Linked DNA regions of Homo sapiens: region 2 is linked to region 1. Evidence: promoter capture Hi-C in human tissues and cell types (Jung and others, 2019). All regions are on one chromosome and are shown on one strand. The core of a region is centred on a gene start or on the middle of the fragment in contact, and the rest is flanking DNA. Distances in the headings are between cores, read along the strand shown.

Region 1 (7,315 bases), core at 2,464-4,963:
GATACTAAGATGAAAAAGACGCCATCACTGCCCTCAAGGAACCCTATCTAGTGGTAGGGAGAAACATAAAAAAACAGGGAGTTCATATTATGAATTATATGAAATGAATATATTGTATTACATTTGAACATTTAATTCAAACTTTACTTGCCCTCTGGTTATAAGCGTTATTAAAATTATTTTCAAGGTTTTGATTTTTTTGCGGTCTCTTTAAACATCTGATGAAAGATGAAATTCTACTTCCCAAATGGTCCTAATTGAAAGCGAATGCACAAATAAGCATGCTATAAGAAACTGGACAGACATCATGAGAAAACACTCAGTTTCACCAAACCTGGTGTTTTTTTTTAAATAATGTTTCTTCTTTTGTTTTCTCCTTCCTTCCTTCCTTCCTTCCTTCCTTCCTTCCTTCCTTCCTTCCTCCCTCCCTCCCTCCCTTCTTTCCTTCATTTATTAATTGGCTTTTAAGTGCTAACTAGCAAGACTGTAAGCCCCATGGAGCTGGTAACCTGGTCTTTGTTGGCTGTGCTCATCAGGTGGCACAAAATAGAAGCTTGATTCATACTTTATTGGATGACTATTGAAAGAACTCAGAGGGCAACTTGCCAGATTCTGAATGTGTCCTAGAGAATAAGTGTGGTTCCTGTCCACACAGAGTTTACAGTCTGAAATGGATTTAATGTTTTCCCTAAGATTTAAACACATGCTCAAGAAAACTTCACAGTTTGATTAAATGAGTAGGCCTAAAACAGTGATATTATCAACAGAGCATGGGGCAAAAGTAGACTATAAGTCGAAAACTTTAAACACAATTTCTTTTCCATTTTCACACACACATACATACAGGCATACATATAAAAGCATGGCTGATTGTTGCTGTTCAAAATGTTCCCATTTTAGAAATTATTACAAACCAATATTTAAGTGCTGCTGTTTAACATTCAGCAAAATTTAAATAAAAGTGGCATTTTAATTTTTTTAATTTTATTTTTCCATAAGTTATTGGGGTACAGGTGGTATTCGGTTACATGAGTAAGTTCTTTAGTGGAGATTTGTGAGAACCTGGTACACCCATCAACCTAGCAGTATACCTTGCACCATATTTGTTGTCTTTTATCCCGTGCCCCCTCCCACACTTCCCCCCAAGTCACCAAAGTCCATTGTATCATTCTTATGCCTTTGCATCCTCATAGCTTAGCTCCCACATGTCAGTGAGAACATATGATGTTCGATTTTCCATTCCTGAGTTACTTCACTTAGAATAATAGTCTCTAATCTCATCCAGGTCATTGCAAATGCTGTTAATTTATTTCTTTTCATGGCTGAGTAGTATCCCATCATCATATATATCAGAGTTTCTTTATCACCTCGTTGATTGATGGGCATTTGGGTTGGTTCCACAATTTTGCTACTGTGAATTGTGCTGCTGTAAACATGCATGTGCAAGTATATTTTTTGAATCATGACTTCTTTTCCTCTGGGTAGATACCCAGTAGTGGCATTGCTACATCAAATGGTAGTTCTACTTTTAGTCCTTTAAGGAATCTCCACACTGTTTTCCATAGTGGCTGTACTAGTTTACATTCCCACCAGCAGTGCAGAAGTGTTCCCTGATCACTGCATCCATGCCAACATCTGTTTTTTGATTCTTTGATTATGGTCATTCTTACAGGGGTAAGGTGGTATCACTTTGTGGTTTTGAGTTGCATTTCCCTGATCATTATTGATGTTGAGCATTTTCTCATATGTTTGTTGGCCATTTGTATATCTTCTTTTGAGAATTTTCTATTTGTGTCCGTAGCCCATAAAAGTGGCATTTTTAATACCAAAGTTTAGGAAAATCAATGATGCTTTATGGCTAAATCTTTAACTGTATCAAGACCCATTCTTTAAGCCTGGCGCAAATCAGTGCTATGGTGGAGATGATAGGTTTAAAATGTCTATGCTTATCTTTGAGGAGAAAAGTACTGTATCTCATGTAATTTAATATATCATAGTAAACTATAGAAGGCAGTTGAAGCCTATTATAGTAAATTTTTGCATGTGTATTTCAATATACCAAACTTTCAGTTTGTTGTTACAAAATAACATATAAATAGGTTTCTGGAGCTGGATGGGCACGGTGGCTCACACCTGTAATCCCAGCACTTTGGGAGGCCAAGGTGGGCGGATCATGAGGTCAGGAGTTTGCGACCAGCCTGGCCAACATGGCGAAACCCTGTCTCTACTAAAAAATACAAAAATTAGGCTGGATGCAGTGGCTCAAATCTGTAATCCCAGCACTTTGGGAGGCAGAGGCGGGCAGATCACCTGAGGTCAGGAGTTCGAGACCAGCCTGGGCAACGTGGTGAAACCCCATCTCTACTAAAAATACAAAAAAATTAGCCGGCTGTGGTGGCGTGCACCTGTAATCCCAGCTACTCGGGAGGCTGAGGCAGGAGAATGGATTGAACCCAGGAGGCGAAGGTTGCAGTGAGCCAAGATCGTGCCACTGTATTCCTGCCTGGGTGACAAGAGTGAAATTCTGTCTCAAAAAAAAAAAAAAAAAAATGCCTGGAAAACTCATTACAGAAGTTTCCACTGTAGTAAAATTTGTTGAAATAAGTTGCACTCAATCATGTAAAAATGTGGCTCCTTGGGACTATCTGAACGGAATGTTGTAAGTGAAACACCCTCACCATAGTCACTATCCTGTTATCAAGAATTCTGGATCTTAAGGAAGTGCTTGTTTTGTCAAAAATGTGACACTAAGACTTTTCACCCCTATAGAAAAACCTCAACCCTGGCCTGGCGTGGTGTCCCACCCCTGTGATCCCAGCACTTTGGGAGGCCGAGGCCGGTGGATTACTTGAGGTCAGGAGTTCAAGACCAGCCCGGGCAACATGGTGAAACCCCGTCTGCACTAAAAACACAAAAATTATCTGGGCTTGGTGGCCTGTGGCTGTAATCCCAGCTATTCGTGAGGCTGAGGCTAGAGAATCGCTTGAACCCAGGAGGCGGAGGTTGCAGTGAGCTGAGATCGCGCCATTGCACTCCAGCCTGGGCGACAGAGTGAGACTCCGTCTAAAACAACAACAAGCAACAACAACAACAAACTTCAATTATGTTTGGAAAGAAGTGCTAATTTAATTTGGCAAAGATGAAGACAGCAGTCATAAAGCAAAACATTCGGTCTCAGGTTGGGTGGATTCCCACCTAGTTGACGAGGCCAGCTGCAGATTCAGGTGGGATCACCTGATGATCTTTATCAATGCCATTTCTTTCTCTGGATCCTTATTACTGACATTAGCAAGGGCTTTCAGCTGCCCAGAAGATGTTCTTTGCAGACATTTGCTCTCCCGGGCTGCCAGCAGGCTTTACAAATTTAAAACTTTCAGTGTAGGAACCCAGCCTCCGTCGTCCTTCCCCTCCAAAGTTAAGAGATCTGCTCTAAGGGTTCCTGAGGGGTGGTCTGGGGCCATGGGAACAGGATCAAGGCCCCCTGAGCGCCGGGCCTGGCTTCTGTGGCTTCGCAAACTTTTCAGCCTGTGTGCCACGGCGACGCGCAGCGGCTGAGTCGGAGCCCACGCGGCGCGCGCCTCCCGCGAGGAACTTTTCGGCTTGTAGGCTGCTTGTCACTCTCGCTTTCCGACGCGCCTCCCCCTGGCTCGCGCTCCCGGAGTTCCCTCCCCTCCTGGCGAGGACCTTTCCCGGCGCCCGCGGCTCCGATCCCCGCCGCGCTGCGCCCGCTCTCCCGGCCCCGGCTGCCCCGCTGAGGGCTCCCCTCTCCCAGGCACCGCAGCCGCGCCCCCGCGTCCCGCCTCCCGAGCGGCTCGCTTCGCCCGATGCCCCGGCCCCGTCCCGCGCACTGAGCGCCTGGCAGCAGGGCGCCGAGTCCCGGGGCGCTGCGGGGCGCTGCGCCGAGAACGGCCGGGCCTGAGCCCTGGGCGGCCCCCAGAGCCGATCAGAGCGCGGGGAGGCGGGGGCGAGGAGGAGGGGACCCGCCGCCGGGGGCTGGCTGCTTCGCTCCGAGCCGACTTTTCGCCAATGGTCCAAAGGGACATGTCCAAGTCGCCTCCCACAGCGGCGGCGGCGGTGGCGCAGGAGATCCAGATGGAACTGCTAGAGAACGTGGCTCCCGCGGGGGCGCTCGGAGCCGCCGCACAGGTAGCGAGAGCGCGGCGCCTTCTCCTTCCTTTGTGAGCCGCCGGGCAGGGCACCGACCTCGGGTTCTCCCGGCGCCTCCACTGCAGGGATCTCTAGCCTCGCACCTCCTCCCCTCGTCGCCTGCCCACCCTCTGCTCCTCTCCTGGCGCCGGGGACCCTGCCCCTTTGCGCCTTTTCCTGGCTCTGCCTCGGCTTCCATTTTTCTCTGCTTCCGAAAAGCCAGTGGGGAAGGGCGGGGGAGACCTGCCAGTCCTCCCAGACTTCTCCCGGGTTGCTCCAGCTGGCCCTCCTCGCCCCTTCCCGGGAGAGGCACATGGAGAGACATGAATCAGGGGAGTGGACTGGACCTGCTGAAGATCGTGAGTCCGGGTGGGCGGGAGGGGGCCCGCTTCCCGCAGCGCTTTCTACGATGCCGACTCTCCTGGCCACGCTCCGAGCCGGGGTGGGCGTGGGTGTGAGGATGATGGGGTGCAGGTGGGCAGGAGGGGAGCGAATATGGGGGTGCCCTGCCGGATCCCCCCAGAGCTGCCCGGACCACGCTGCGCACCTGGGGCTGACAGCTCTCCAGTCCCCTCGGGCACTTGCCAAGGTTTGCCTGTCCCACCTCATGCCTTTCCCTTAAGAAGCGAGTGAGCTGGGGACAAGAAAGTTTTTATTTTTCCGTCTCCCCTGAAATGTTAGCCATTTCAGGGATCTCCAGGATCCCCTTTCTCTCCGTTGAGTGTTTGCGGTTTCTGGAAAAAGTCAGCTTCGCTGCAGGTTGTTGTGAAATTGGAGATGTCAGTTGTAGGCGCTGGGCAATGACAAGGTGGTTTTTACGTTTTTACGTAAGGCTTCAGCAGGTACAGTTTGGGTTACAGACACCTCCAGGTCTCAGCGATGAGGAGTCGCTCAACTTTTCTCCCGGCAGGGAAATGACTTCAGACTCCTAGCTGCGGGCTGGCTGTTGGCTGGCCAGTGATGTGAAGAGGTCTTGGTTACATTTCAGGCAGCATTCTGGAGAAATGTCTGTTTGCTTAACTGTGTTGGCTTGTTGATTTCAAGCCTACATTTGCCAGATTTTAATTTGCGGTAAGATATATATGTGTGTGTATATATACTTATATATTAATACGTAGACACACATACACACACTAGAGAGCATGTTAGAGTATCATTTGCTGTAGTAGTGGGGGCAGGAGTGTGACAAGCTAATAAAGGTGGCAAATGTTTTCTTGCTGTTGTTTTGATAGGTGGAACATGAGTGCTCTAGATATTTTGATATTGTAATCATGGCAGTTCCAAGTGGCATAGTAGTCTAGCTTTATTGAACTTTCTTTTACCATTGGGAAATTAATGTGCTAACTTAAAACACATAATTCACTTTGACTTGAGAAGGGGAAGAATGTGGACACCAAGGACTTGTGTAATCAGAAATCTATTTCTTTTGTAGTGGTAAAACAGCTAGATTTTGGTCCACCCTGGGCTGTTTGCTTCACAAGCCGAGTAGGGACATGTAATGAACCAGCTACATTCCCATCTGGCCTCTGCCAGAGGATCTGAATTTTAACCAATAGAGTTTGCATTTGTTCTAGACTCCTGATTTTTATCTAGATGCTTGCCAGGTTAGACAGAATGAAAAATGTACCCGGAGACCTCGGTTATTCTAGGATGAAGGTCTTGAATACTATCAGTATTCGAGTCCTCCATCAAAGGAAAGGACATTTAGACCCTCATTTGCCTTTGATCTTCCTTGAGGGATATTTTAGAAAAGTTTTTATTCTTATGATAAAAATAGAGTTCCTAAATTCCTGGACATCAAAGTCAGGGCTCACATAACTGCATTCAGATAAGAGATACTAATTTACTTTGTGATTTATGTACAATGATTAAATGTAAGTCAAGTTATTGTACAGCAGCAATGTGGAAATGATTCTGATGTGAAAAGACACAATTTCTGCCTTCAAAGAATTTATATTCCAGTAGCAGCAATTAGGATATATGTATAGGGGCTGGAAGAGAAGTTCTGACTAGTAAATGGCTTCAAAGGAATAAGGATAATAAACACGCTATTTGGAGGAATCTGTAAGGACTTCATTGATGAGGTGGCATTTGCAAAGAGAATTGAAGGATGGGTCAGATTACACCAGATATTTTTGAGAGAGTTGGTAAGCAGTCGTACATGAAACAGAGTCCCAGAAGTAAGAAGTCTTACAGGATAATTTATCGTTTCTAGTTCAAAAAGAGCATGGTAAGGTCAAGATTGGACACAGGCGTAAAACTGACAAAGCAATTTGAGACTACATCTTGGGGACTTGGAATCTTTAGTGTATTGAGCGACAGGGAACTGTGGAAGGAGTTCAAAAGAGGACCCACATAGCAGCTCATTTGGGAATATTCACTTGGAAATGTTCTGTAAGATAGTTTCAAGTCTTAGGAGTCCAGAGGTGAAGCTGCCAGGCAGCAGACAGATGTAACAGTTTGGGCCGAGGTAATAAGGCCTAAGCGAAAAAGAGATGAAAAGATAATGGATATGACAGTTCTATGTATCAAACATTTCAAAGTTCAATTCACAGGAATTAGCAAGTGATTGCATAGATAAAGGAGAGAGAAGAGAAAGGGCAGAATGGATTTTAAAAGCAAGTTTAAGAGATATAAATATTCAACTGCATCAACATTCATCTCCTTGCTTTCTCTGCCTTCCAAAAATGAAAGCAATTTGACTTGAATTGCGTTCATCTCACACCCATTATTTGAGGGAAACATTACCTTGTTTATTTTATATCTGATAAATCATGGCATCATAGGATTGTGTGAGGCTTGGGAAAGCCATCTCTTCCATCTCTCTGTTTGGGCAGAACAGACCAGCAGTAAAAACTGCCTGAGAAAGGAGGCTGGCTCTAGAGCATCCTCCTTGTATGTGGCACCGAGTAATTCTACTCAGAATTATTGGGCAGTTCTACCTAGAAATGGAGTTTCTATTTACAAATGGAACCTCTAAAGCAATGATTGGTTTTAGGAATCATTCTACCTCACCTCTGGATTATAGTATTATATTTGTATGAAGAAAGCAGAAGATGTAGATTTGCAAACTCTGCCATTTTCCTTTTCTGTATCAATCATTCTGTCTAGAGAGAGGGAGCATCCTGATACATTCCGGTCCCTTTGCCCCAGTACATTGCCATAAACA
Region 2 (7,315 bases), core at 2,748-5,247, 87 kb after region 1:
TGCTGTCAGTCATGGGCATATTTATGGGCATGACACACACACAGATGAGCCATTTAAATAGGATTTTGAGCATTGCTAATTTTGCTTCAGAAAGATTTGTTTGATTTTGATGCCTTTTGCTTAATCCCTACATATCTGGTCTTCAAATATGAACTATTAAATCATATATCCAACACCTTCTATATATGTAATACTGAATATTAATAATTGGCATAAATAATTACAACTCCACAGCACTGCAGAAGAGAATGTCATTAAAGAGGCTAGTCAGTAATATACATCCAGCCAATGTTTGTTGAATGAATAAATGAAATTTCATTTAGCATATTTAATTTTTGTGAAAGCAAAAGAGTATTACACTACTAATACATTCCTCTTGTTCCATGAATAATTATTGATTATTTAATGTATTTTACACGATTTTCAGGAGCAATCGTTATAGTAAAAATGTAGTAGTTTTTAATACTTATGCAGAAAAGCACATAAAACAGAATGCTCCTATGTTCCCTTCTTTTTACATTAGGAAACATTTTTTTCTTTATTTAAAAATGAAATTTTTCAGTATAAACTATTATATGGTAACTAACAAAACATTTAAAAGTACTACAGTCTTTTTCTTTCATCACCAGATACAACCACTATTAATATTTTAATTTCCTTTTTAGTTTTTAAAAATAAAGCTGTAATAATATTAAGGAGAATTTTTGTCTTCAATTTCAGAGACAGAATCCTATTGCAGAAATTTTATTTTTAAATTTTCCCTTTGTGTTGCTTTTCCCCCCAATAAAACAGAAACTGCTAGGCTCTTAGAAAATGGGAACTCTTCCATCTAGTGAAATATGTACAGAAAAATAGATAATAGGCAGCCTACCCCTTCTACTAACATATCACTGCATCTTAAACTAAGGGGTCTATTTTTTTTTTTTGTCCTGGGAAAAGTGGACTCATTTTCATATCTAGAATTAATGAGGTTTAGTTTGATAAGGACTGCTTTTAGGTGGCCCTAGAGATGAGTAATAAGGACAAATTAGATATAAAATAAAATATTACTCTTTTGCAATGTTTGCTTTTCCTAAACCTCTTAGCGAAAGTCTCTGCTGTTTCTTGTCTTTTTTGGCTAGAATGGTTTCTAGGACTATGAACAACTGCTTTAAACACAGCAAACTTTCTAACTCCTTTTTATCAGGCTTAAATATGATTAAGACCTACCTTCCGTGTGCCTTCTCCCTCCTCTTCCCTCCCTCTTTCAACTTCTCCCTTCAAAAAAAAAAAAATTCCAATTTCTTTGTAGTCTCAAAGCTCAGCTGATATGAAATCGATTTTGGGAAGTGAGTTTCATACAAAATTAAAGGAAATCCATTTTATTGAAGAAAATTACCCGGCTCCTTAAAGTTCCTCATTTTGTAGCTACTTTATACTTTCCAAAGAATTTCTTTCTCTAACCCACGAAGGGTTGGGACAGATGCTCATATTCTCATTTTACCCCAAGTTAGTTAGCAACTTGGATCAGGTTAAGAAGCTCGTTCTGATAGAACCTGGATGAGAACCTGGGCCCCCTAGTCTCCTGTGTCAGAGAGTAGGAGGTTATGCTTGGGAACAGAAGGCCTACGTCCCACAACCATGACCAGCCCAGCGTTTGTGGGAGTTCAGTCCAATATAGAATCACTCTTTCAAGGTAATAACTTTACTGCGGGCTTTTACGGCCTGCCGAGCCAAATCGAAGTCATGCCATCTCCAGATTGCAGGAGCAGAAACAGGTTAAAGGGCCTCAGTCCTCCCTTAAGGTGGCCTAAGCTCCGCCTCCTCCCTGCTACATCCTGACAGGCACATTCATCTATACCTCAGCCTGTCAATTTCCACTCCCTTTTTCAGGATGAGCCTAGTGTGGACACCAAGGTGTCCGCGTGTTTCGCTCTCTATGGCCCTTGTTCTTTTCTGATGTCAGCCAGCCCTCTGTTTGCTCAAGGCCAAGGCTACATAATTACTTAGCATGGACATTTCATTTCCTTCATTTTATGTGACCTGCTGTTTCTCAGGCTTTTGGCTGCACATAATAAGCTTTTTTTTTTTAAAGTGATCTATTGTATTTTTCCATGTTCTGTTGAGCTGGGAGGAGTCGGCAGAACCTTTTTAATATCAGATATTACAAAATCCCTGGCAGAGGATGGGGGATGGGGGAGGGTAAAGCCTGGAGAGACAGGGCTAAGCAGCTTAAAAACCACACCACTCACTTCCAGTTTATTAAGTCCCTACTTGATGCAAACTTTTCGTAGGTCACCTCAAAATATTACAACAGCCTTTCATGATAAATATTAGATGCCCCATTTTACAATGTAAGAAACTGAGGGTTTAAGAAATATGGCCTGGGTCCAGGACTGAACCAGGATTCGTGACACCACAGGCAGGCTCTGTGTTAGTCTTCATTCAAATAATTTTCTCTCTCTCTTTTCTTTTCTTTTTCTTTCTTTTCTTTCTTTTCCCTCCCTCCCTCCCTCCCTCGCTCCTTCCTTCCTTCCTTCCTTCCTTTCTTCCGTCGTTTCTTCCTTCCTTCCTTTCTTTCTTTTCCTTTCTTTCATCTTTTTGGCAGGGTCTCCCTCTGTCACCCAGGCTAGAGTGCAGTGGTGCCATCATAGCTCACGGCAACCTCCACCTCCCGGGCTCTAATGATCTTCCCACCTCAGTCACCCTAGTAGCTGGAACTACAGATGTGCACCATCACACCTGGATAAGTTTTTAAATTTTTGTAGAAATGGGGTCCCACTATGTTGCTCAGGCTGGTCTCCAGCTCCTGGGCTTAAGTGATCCTCCTGCCTCAGCCTTCCAAAGCACTGGGATTACAGGTGTGAAGCACTGGACCTGGCCTAATTTTCAAATATTAAAGACATGTTCTTAGTGGAGGGCAGGCTAGCATGATGAGAGATGCTTTTTTTTAATTTTCTTTTCTTTTCTTTTCTTTTTTTTTTTCTTGAGACAGGGTCTTGCTGTGTAGCCCGGGCTGGAGTGCTGTGGTGTGATCTAGGCTTACTGCAACCTCCGCCTCCTGGGCTGAAGTGATCCTCCCACCTCATCCTCCCTGGTAGCTGGGACTACAGGTGTGTGCCACCATGCCTGGCTAATTTTTGTATTTTTGGTAGCGAAGAGGTTTTGCCATGTTGCCCAGGCTAATTTCGAACTCCTGAGCTCAAGTGATCCATTCACCTCAGCCTCCCAGAGTACTGGGATTACAGGTGTGAGCCACCGCCCCCAGACGGATGGTTTTAAGTTTCTATTGACTGGCATCGGCTACTTCAGCAGAAGCTGGATCCATAATGCATTTTGTTAGCTTTGTAAGAGTTACAGTGAGATCTGAGTTAACTATTCCTTTTCCCAAATTACCCTAGTGATGTTTTAATGCTCCTTATAAACCAGTCCCCTGCTGTGGTTCCTTCATTTGGTATGACCCCAGGCTACACAGCCAGTAAGAGGCAGAGATGGGGATTTAAAACCTGATCTTCCTGTTTGTTGCTTCTACGATCTGCCGGCACTTCTTGAGATTCATGAGCGTGTGGCCGTATGATCACTAATGAATTAACTCAATCAATATCAATTGAATGTCTATTCTGTCTTACATTTGTATACTGTTTAATGGTTTACAAACAGTTTTTGCAGGTATAATCTCATTTAAATCTTACCCAGAAACCACAGGAAAGAAGTAAGCCAGGAAATATCAAACCACCCCAAGACACAGGCAGAATACAGCCAGGATTTTAACTCCTGTCTTTTAACTCCCAGTTTTGCCACACTGTACAGGTCTGCGGTTATTGGTGTCTCTTTCAGATGTTGCTACTATCCAGCCTGGGAATATGGAAAAAAAGTGGGGGAGGAGGGAGCGAGGGTTATTTAGCTGCACTTTCAAATCAAGGAGAATGGCCACTTAAATGAGACTATTTCTTCACCCATAGCTCTGAGGATGACATTAGCAGCCCACATTAGAGGCAGAAAAAGAAATCTCCCTTCTGAAAAGACCATAATGATAAAACAACACGTTTTCTGAAATGATAGGAAGAATTTTATGTCGAATATCGTAATGGGGTCAGTAGCACTTCTCAGAAGGGAGGTCAGCAAACTGGGTCTTGGTGAGTGCATCAGATCAAAGCAAAAGAAGGAGAAGGGGCAGTGCCTTCTGTACCGAGAGGAGGAGCAGAAGCACAGGCATAGCTGTGATCCAGAAGCGCAGATTTGGGGCCCCTGGTTGCTGGATGGCCAGGGGGAGGATTTGGTGTGGGCTGGGGAGTGGCTGGAGGCTCTGGAGGCTTCCATGTCAGAGGGTATGCAGTCAAAGAGAGATAGGAGAAAAAAAATACCCCAGCTCGGAATGAACTGATGGATGGAAGGAGGAGGAAAGCGCAGAGATGGGGGTACTAACGTTATTTCAATTCAGTAGTGTTCCATGAAAGGCACATAAAGGCAAAGCAAACCCAAATGCCAAAGGAGCTGAGAAATCAAAGAGACAGTTTGTTGGAACTGGGTGATTTATTGAGGGAACTTAACAACAGAAAGGTGGTCTTGGGCGGCCGCAAGACAGGCAGATCTCTGCGCTGTTACTTTCCAGACCCAGCGCTTATCTACCATAGGGAAAGGGAGTATGCGCTCCAGCAAGGTGATTAAAGGCACCCTCCAGAATAGACAAGTATGCTGCGTGCCTCACCGCCTATAATTTGTGCAGTGACGTTAAGGTTGACATGTTGTCATACAAGAGACAGTAAATAAAGTAGGAATCAAAAGGCATTTATTGGACTGGGGCTCATCAGAAGTCAACATGGTGAATTAACATCCAAGATAGAGTCACTTTTGTCTCCACTCCAACATCATAAATTTGATGATTGAGAGAGTGAGAAGATGCTAGTGCTGTCTTCAGTGCATGCTCTGAAAGGAGGAAAAAAAAATTTGCAGTCAACATTTTTACATTCTTTCAGGGTAGGGGACAGCCTTTTCCACAGAGTGTCTTTTGGTGTACAAATGAAAACCTCACCCTCAAAAGGTTGGGTTAGTTGATGGTTCATTTGGGGGGAAAAAGAAAAATAGGCCGGACGCGGTGACTCACGCCTTGTAATCCTAGCACTTAGGGAGGCCAAGGCGGGTGAATCACCTAAGGCCAGGAGTTCGAGACCAGCGTGGTCAACATGGTGAAACCTTGTCTCTACTAAAAAAAATAAATTCAAAGTTAGCCGGATGTGGTGGCACATGCCTGTAATCCCAGCTACTTGGGAGGCTGAGGCAGGAGAACAATCGCTTGAACTTGGAAGGCAGAGGTTGCGGTGAGCCGAGATGGCGACATTGCACTCCAGCCTGAGCAACAAGAGCAAAACTCTACCTCAAAAAAAAAAAAAAAAGAAAAAAAAAAAGAAAAGAAAAAACATAATACATTGTTTTTAGGCAAAGATGGAAAGCATCTTATTAGTCTTACCAGACATGAAAGAATAGTGAAGGATGTATCCTCAAAAGACAACCTCCTGTATTTGAATCCAGGTCTTTCACGTCCTGGATGTGTGATCTTGTACAAGTTAGTGTCGGTAGGACAGTTGGAAGAACACATGGGACAGATATCACTCAATGACTTGCAGAGACAGCCTGTGTCAGTTTTGTTGTGAGTGGCTCGTTTTTACCCTCTTCCCTCTTAATGGATTTTTTTTTTCTTTTGAGACAGAGTTTCACTCTTGTCACCCAGGTTGGAGTGCAATGGTGCGATCCCAGCTCGCTGCAGCCTCTGCCTCCTGGGTTCAAGGATTCTCCTGCCTCAGCCTCCCAAGTAGCTGGGATTACAAGCATGTGCCACCATGCCTGGCTAATTATTTTTGTATTTTTAGTAGAGATGGGGTTTCACCACGTGGGCCAAGCTGGTCTCGAACTCCTGACCTCAAGTGATCCACCTGCCTCAGCCTCACAAAGTGGTGGGATTACAGGCATGAGCCACCGCATCCGGCTCTCTTAATGGATTTCTTTGCAGTTCTAAAAAGCATTGTTACAGCAAATATATACACAAGCAAGATAAACTATCTGAACTGTGTTTCTTATTTGGTCATGTAAGTAATGATAGTGTAATTAGTGTGAGAAATTAGTATTATTTATTAGTATGCATAATATTAGAATATTAATTAAGGAAAGGAGATCAGCATGTTGGCAATCTGAAGACTAAATCCATAATTTCAATTACATGATTTTATTTATTCTTATAAAACAAGAATCGTTATTCCCATATTGAGGGGTTGAGGCAGAAGTTCAAAACTTTAGTTGTATTTCTGCTTGGGAAAATAGCAGAGATCTAAAATTAGTCTTATTAGACCACAGATATGTACCCAGCCAAATTTAATGTGGGATTTTAAAGTTCATGGAGTTAAATAGTTCAAAGTAGCACTGTACAAAGCAAATAGAAAATGCACTTTTAAACTTTTTTCAATTTTGCTTGGTAAGATATGAAAATCATTTAAGGAATGTATTTATATTTTTATGATAATCCTTAAAATATTTAGCAGCATGAAAAATGTATTAAAATATTAACAAAATGACAGGCTTTTTAAAAGGACAGTTCTTTAGTAGGTATCATATTTGTTAAATCAAAAGAAAACACTCTTCTATGGTAAACAGTCCTAATTTTTAGCTATAGATTCATATATTTATAGGTTGGTTTATAGTTATGTTTGTCAATGAAGTATTATAGCTATGATGTTAGAGCCCTTTTTAGAAGGATGTTTATGGTAATTTTTATGTAGTTAAATAGATTCAAATTAAGATGTACTACGGTAAAATTACATATGGCATTACTCCTACCATTTGGAGAAACTGGAATATGCCATGCAACCTTTAGTATCGAAACTCGACACCCACTTTCAAAACAGCAAGCATAGAGAAATCTTGTGATTTATTCCTCCATAAGTCAGCCTCATGAATCCTGGTGACAGCAATTATTTTGATCTGAATCACTCAGTGACCAATTCTTAGTTCACTGATTGCATTCCATGAATATTACAGCATCATCTGTACCTAACATAGGAAATTATTGACATCATATTTTACATAGTTGGTTCAAAAGGGCTAACTCATTAGAATGAGGGAGACAGAGAGAGCATCCCCAACTCCCTTGTTCTCCAAGATAGAATTGTTAGAAGAAAAAGTAATAGAAATGTCAGAAATAAATCAAATCAACAGCATACATTTCTGCAGCAATGAACTTTCCTTGTTGTTAGAAAATAAAAGCAAGAAGAATGAACCCTCTCTTCTACAGAAAACTTCTTCTTTCACACTCAAGTTGCCTGTTCCCTCGATCTTTTTTTTGTAC

What was found. The method cuts DNA at HindIII sites, captures the fragments that hold promoters and counts their contacts. A contact is called where the count stands out against the background at its distance.
Region 2: a contact is called between a fragment that was not itself captured here and the fragment with the promoter of CACNB2 in region 1, in 2 of the 25 tissues and cell types used here (aorta and pancreas).

The regions. Positions count from the first base shown.
Region 1 is chr10:18,136,711-18,144,025 of GRCh38, forward strand. It overlaps CACNB2 (calcium voltage-gated channel auxiliary subunit beta 2), which reads left to right and starts at 3,714. Exons shown (of 14, transcript NM_201596.3): 1 at 3,714-4,146. The coding sequence starts at 4,027. RefSeq lists an enhancer at 1-179. The HindIII fragment of the contact is 13,208 bases long and covers 1-7,315 here.
Region 2 is chr10:18,223,078-18,230,392 of GRCh38, forward strand. The region is part of intron 2 of CACNB2 (calcium voltage-gated channel auxiliary subunit beta 2); the gene reads left to right. Among named protein-coding and RNA genes, the nearest start is that of CACNB2-AS2, 35 kb to the right of the region's middle. The HindIII fragment of the contact is 9,297 bases long and covers 1-7,315 here.